Regions from separate parts of the Homo sapiens genome. Here region 2 is linked to region 1. The links are contacts of gene promoters, found by promoter capture Hi-C in human tissues and cell types (Jung and others, 2019). All regions are on one chromosome and are shown on one strand. The core of a region is centred on a gene start or on the middle of the fragment in contact, and the rest is flanking DNA. Distances in the headings are between cores, read along the strand shown. Region 1 holds the start of MYCBPAP (MYCBP associated protein). Region 2 holds the start of SPAG9 (sperm associated antigen 9).

Region 1 (2,974 bases), core at 475-2,974:
AGTTCAAGACCAGCCTGAACAACATAGCAAGACCCTGTCTCTACAAAAAATTTAATAATTAGCTGGGTGCAGTGGCACATGCCTGTAGTCCCAGCTACTCGGAAGGCTAAGGCAGCAGGATCATTTAAGCTCAGGAGTTTGAAGCTGCAGTGAGCTATGATTGTGCCACTGCACTCCAACCTGGGCAACAGAGTGAGATACTCGCTAAGAAAAAGAAATACATACATATTCATTTAACCCTGGCAGTGGCCTTGTGAGAGCAGCATTATGACCTCCATTTTATGTATGTATATATGTATGTATGGATGTATGAGATGGGGATCTCACTTTGTTGCCCAGGCTGGAGTACAGTGGTGCAATCAGAGCTCACTGCAGCCTGGACCTCCTGGGCTCAAGCAATCTTCCTGCCTTAGCCTCCAGAGTAGCTAAGACTACAGGTGTGGGCCACCAAAGCCAGCTAATTAAAAAAAAATTTTTTTAGGCTAGGCACGGTGGCTCACGCCTGTAATCCTAGCACTTTGGGAGGCCGAGGCGGGCAGATCACGAGGTCAGGAGTTCGAGACCAGCCTGACCAACTGGTGAAACCCCATCTCTACTAAAAATACAAAACTTAGCCAGGCATGGTGGCACTCGTCTGTAATCCCAGCTACTCAGGAGGCTGAGGCAGGAGAATCGCTTGAACCTGGGAGGCAGAGGTTGCAGTGAGCCGAGATGGCACCACTACACTCCAGCTTGGGCACAGAGCAAGACTCCGTCTCAAAAAAAAAAAAAAAAAAATTTTTTTTTTTTTTTAGAATGGAGTCTCCCTACGTTGCTCAGGTCAATTTTGAACTCCTGGCCTCAACCAATCCTCCTGCCTCAGCCTTCTAAAGCACTAGGATTGTAGGCCTGAACCACTGTGCCCAGCAGAGAAAACCGGCTCTCTAGGTCAAGGCATTGGCTCAAGAACACACAGCTAACAAGCCGACATAGCTGGGATTAGAACCCAATTGTCTGGCTCTAGAACCCCTTCACTATTTGAGGTACAATTTACTGCCTGACTACTAGTGCTAAACTTTGGGTTGGGGGCAGGGCCTGAGGCAGCTCCTGCTCTCATACATTCTGAGAGCCAGTTTGACAATAGGCAACTACACAAAAAACCGAAATAATCCCAGAATGCCTCAGGGCTCCAGGGGAAGGCGAAAAAAGCGGGTGCGTTTATAAACTTAAAATAATCAGAGGCAGCATCTCCAAGGACTGTGAGAATGCCCCAAGTCAGGGCAAAAGTTTTGGCTGGTTTGGGAAGTGATGAAAGGCCAAAGTGGCTGCAGCGAGCGTGGACCCGGGAGGTCTCCAGGCGCGTTGGTGCGAGTTGGGGACGGCAGGCAGGGACACCTAAAACCTACGGTACGCCACGAAGGGGTTTCAGCACGTCCTGAAAGGCCCGATCCCCCCCCAGAACCGCTGTGAGGGGGGCAGAGGGAGGTCCCTCGACAGGATGTGGCCTTAGTCGAGGAAGGCGGGAAGCAGGGGCTGGCACCCCCGACGCCCCACCCGCCCCCCGTGGCCTAGCAGCAGGGCGGGGCGAGGCGGGTCATGCACCCCTACCAGCCAGCCACTCCCACCCAGCCCTCGGCTCCCGCAACTCGCGGGGGTCCTCGCCCGGGTCCCCCGCCCCGCCCCGCCCGGCTGGTGACGTCACGGCGCTCGTCGGCGCCGCCTGTGGCGTCACAGGCCGGGCCCGCAGGGCTTTCTAGGGGTCCGTCGCTCTTGAAGCCGCCGGCGGCGGGCGCGTGCGCGGCCCGATGAAGAAGGAGGTTTCCAAGCCGTCTCCGCCCAAGTTGATCGGTGGATGCGCGCCCCCGCGCGGGGCACCGGTTGCTGTGGACGCAGTGGCGGCCGTTGGCTGGCGGGTGCGGCGCAGCCTCGGTGTCTCTGGGCCGGCGGTGCAGGGCAACGTTTCATGGTGCCGGGCGGCACCATGAAGTCTCTAAAGAAGGATTCCCGCCTCAGAATAACTCCGACCAGATTATTAGAGGCCTCAGAGAATGTCAAAGGTTGGCGCTGGCTGCCTTGGGCGCTCGGGAGAACCCGAGAGGGGAAGCGGTCCCCGGAAAGAGTTCAGGACACGGGGCCTGGAGGATGGGGATGGCACCAGGGATGGAGGAAAGATCACGGGGAAGTGGGGTACTGGGCATAGGACCCTTAGGGATGGGGGGCAAGGCAGGAAGAGCCTACAGCGCACTGGGCCTTGGGGATGGGGACATAGGAAGTGGGAGACTGACAGAGGGGCCTCAGGGACCACTGGCTGGGGAGATGGCCTTGCGCTACCTCTAACCACATCTTAGGGTGGCATGCAGGAGGCAGGATCCCCGGACTGGATGAAGTGCAGAAGAGCCAGGAAAGAGTTTAAGGGTAGAAGGGCCAGGAATTGGGGTCCTTGGGAAGAGGAAAGAATGAAGTGTTGAAACCAGCCACCTTGATGGGATTATTTGGTAGAGGAGGGTCGGGGAGCGGGGCAGGCGTCACTTAGGATTCCTGCTGGAAAAACCCAGAAGAAAGGCCTTGCTTGGCTAGTTCTCTTTTTGACTGCCTTTTCCTACCACGTGCACTTTCCAGCTGGATGACACTTATCCAGCTCCTTTAGCCTGGAAAGAATCGCTAGATATGACTGCTTCCTACCCTCTACAGCTTTCTTCTGGTTGCACCTGGGAGAGCCACAGGGCGTCTGATAGCGGACTGACTTCCATGGACATGTTCTCACTTGCAACCCACCCCCTTTTGATCTTTTTTGGCTGTTTCCATTTATTTATTTTTAAATTTAATTTTTAGCTTTTTTTTTCTGTGTGTGTGTGTGTGTGTGTGTGTGTGTGTGTGTGTGTTTGTAAACAGGGCTCTCGCTGTGTTGCCCCAGCTAGTGTCAAATTCTTGGCCTCAAGCGATCCTCCTGCCTCGGCCTCACAGACTGCTAGGATTCCAGGCATGGACCACTGCG
Region 2 (3,125 bases), core at 500-2,999, 610 kb after region 1:
AAATCATCACTACAGTCAAGCTTTTAAAAAAGGAAAAAGAACTATTTAACCAGATGCAAAGGTATACGTGACAAAATAAAACAAAAATTTAATGGTGTTACTATTCAGTGTCAGGAAATGAGCTACAAACCTCACATCCTAAAAACTCTTCAAGTCTTTTTGAAAAATACTATGTCATTCCTTCAATAATTAGTTATTTCGCCTCCTTTGATCACCATGTATTTAAGCAGGTGTGCTAGGTGCTTGAGAAACAAAAATAGGACACATCACCTGCCTTTGATAAGGTCCACAGAAATAACGCCAACGCAGGCTGAAAGCTAAACTCCTTGTCAGTCTCAAGAAGCCAAGGACCTATCACTTGCACCCTAGAACTCCAAAAGGTTCACAGAGTCGAGGTGAGGGCGCCCAGGTCACTGCTCGGGTGCTAGAGTTAACAGGTGGCCAAATGCACGTATAAACAGCAGTCTAAGAAGGAAACTCAGACGGAAAAAGTGTTGCCAACTGTCACCTACATCTTCCCAACCCCGCCCCCCAATCCTTTTTATAAATAAACGGAGGGTTTTTGAAGGGAACTGTCCAAGGTTACAACCTGATACGGAGGAATGCTTTGGTTTGGGATACCAACGAAATTGTTTATATATTTATTGAGTACTGCCACACAACATCTAAAAGTTGACAAAGTGTCAACCAAGGCACATAGAACATAAAATAAGACGTCTTTCTCAACAAGATTAAAACGTCAAGAAGAAACTGACCGAAAGAGGGAGATCTCTAACTTCCCAAAGCAAGGCAACCCCCTGGAAAGGTACTGGAACTAGCGGAAGTTACATATCCAGGGCAGAAGTGTCCCCCTCCCCAAGGGTAAAACTTTGAACCGCCATCTGACTATCCCACGGTGGTCGGAAACTTCCCTCAACAAGAAGCAACCAGACACCCAACAATCTCCGCCCTTGGCCAACCCCAGGTGTCCTCAGGCCAGGCTGCCGCTTCCTCCCCGGGCCCTGCCTCCTCCATCTCGCTCCCTTCCCAGGACACTCAGTAGCCGGCCTCGGCTTCCAACGCCGGCCTGGCTCCCGGGGTACCTGGAGGCCGCCGGGATCGGTCCCAGGGGGCATCGGCCTCAGGCCCGCCCTCCAGGAGGCCCGTCGCGCCTCTAGTCCCCGACCGGGCCGCGACCCCGCCCCGGCCGCCCCCGGAGACGGATCCCGCGGCCCCCGCCCTGCCGCCGGCCTCACCTCCTCAGCGTGCTTGCGCAGCGCCTTCTCCCGCTCGTACTGGGTGATGAGCTGCTCGTTGTCGTCCCGCAGCAGCTCCAGCTCCACCTGGTGCTCCTGGTCCTGCGCGAACACCGAGTCCAGGTTCTCCAGCACAGCCACCACCAGCGGCATCAGCTCTTTGACCACCTCCTCGTCATAGCGCCCGATAAGCCGCTCGAACTCGCGGTAGATGGAGCCGGCCAGGCCGGACACCCGCTCCGACATCACGGCCCCGGAGCCGCCGGGCTCCTCCTGATACACCACACCGTCCTCCAGCTCCATGGTGGCAAGCGGACGGGCGGGCGGCCCGGGGCGTCGCCGGCAGAGGGGCGGCACCTGCCCGCACGGGACGGACCCGACTCGGGCTGGGACGGGTACTAGGGCTGGAGCCCGGGCCGGGGCTGGGGCTGGGCCCGGCGGGGTGGGGGCCGGGGCCGGAGGAGGGGAGGGGTGGCGTAGGCGCTCTCACCCCAACCGCCGCTGCACCAACTGCCGGGGCGGCCCGGCCGCGCGCGCCACACGTCATCCGCGGGGCGGGGCCGGCGCCGCGTCGGCCCGATGGGCGGGGCGCCGCGGGAGGCCAGGCGCGGCCGGGGGCGGGGCCAAGCGTCTTCGGGCGCTGGCGGAGGAAGCCATGGCGTCAACACCCGGCGCCGCGAAGACGGTGCGGGCGCCAATGGGAAAGACTGCGGTCGGCGGGTGGGGAGAAGTATCCATCCACAGCGGGATTCGCGGGGCGGGTCCCAGGGGAAAGGGAGGGGTTCGGGAAGAGTGACGAGTTAACTTAGCTGGCATTTCTATGGCTTTTTAAAGCTCACAAAGCACCTACTCACTTCATCCCCACAACAGGCGTAAAGAGGTAGATATTTGGACCTCGTTTCACAGACAAAGAAACTAGGCCCAGGAAAGTGGCGTTGCTCTCAAGGTCACGCAGCTACAACGGGAAACGGGCTGAGCCGGGACTCAAACCAATTACCCAGATTGAGAATTCCGGGCTCCGAAAAAAACTGGAAACAGAAAGGGAGGGAAAAAAAACCATAACCAGGGTCTGCCCAAGTGGAAAGGTGGTCTCGAATAGAATAGAACTGTTTTGTGCTATGGAAGAGCAAGGGTGAGATGAGGGGAAATGGGAGTGACTGCTAATAGGTATGGGATTTCGTTTTGGGATAATAAAAATGTTCTAAAAAATGTATTATAGTGATGAATACACAACTCTAAATATGCTAAAAGACATTCAACTTTACACGTTAAGTGAGTGAATCATATGGCGTGTGAATTATATCTCAAGTTATTAAAAAATAAACAGGAAGGGTGATAGCATTCTGGAGAAGGGTGAAACTGGAACGTTACATGTGGCACTTTCCCACATAGTGTGTCTGCTACTTCTGGCCAACTTGGGACGGGGACATTTCCAGGCTCCAGCCACCCTCCTCTCCTCAAGTCTTGAAGTGGGGCGGAAAGGGTAAGTGGGAGGTTGGGGAACAGAGGAGGTAAGGGGTGGAGTCACTGGAGTGAATAAGTCCCATGACAAGTGAGGTTTCTGCCGCCTGGGAGAGTGTCACGTGTGGGGAATGACACAACGCCCACGCCTAGAGCGGGCTGAGTCAAGGATCCCGGTGTGCTCATCTAACGTCCGCAAATGGGACGGAAGACACTCTCAAAAGTCCCTTCTCTGTGTCTCAGGTGACTCAGCTCTCCGTCCCGACTCGTTTAAGAAAAGGGGGAGGAAAGGCAGGATAAACATAGGTTTAAGGGGAGAATTGGCCACCCACCGGGATCATAACTACCCTTAGCTTGGGGTTTACAAGTTTAAGTACTTCCCACCAAGTATGAAGTAGTCCCCTAAAGTTTCCTACGCATGACCCACCT

The links. Contacts are between HindIII fragments. The study calls those that stand out against the background at their distance.
Region 2: the fragment with the promoter of SPAG9 here is called in contact with the fragment with the promoter of MYCBPAP in region 1 in 1 of the 25 tissues and cell types used here (neural progenitor cells).

Annotation. Positions count from the first base shown.
Region 1 is chr17:50,506,715-50,509,688 of GRCh38, forward strand. It overlaps MYCBPAP (MYCBP associated protein), which reads left to right and starts at 1,725. Exons shown (of 19, transcript NM_032133.6): 1 at 1,725-2,036. The coding sequence starts at 1,961. RefSeq lists a silencer at 1,431-1,720 and enhancers at 1,741-1,800, 1,821-1,950. The HindIII fragment of the contact is 18,604 bases long and covers 1-2,974 here.
Region 2 is chr17:51,119,119-51,122,243 of GRCh38, forward strand. SPAG9 (sperm associated antigen 9) reads right to left here and starts at 1,750. Exons shown (of 30, transcript NM_001130528.3): 1 at 1,236-1,750. The coding sequence starts at 1,538. RefSeq lists silencers at 1,003-1,132, 1,153-1,232, 1,483-1,862 and enhancers at 1,263-1,382, 1,672-2,486, 2,003-2,232, 2,842-3,101. The HindIII fragment of the contact is 17,249 bases long and covers 1-3,125 here.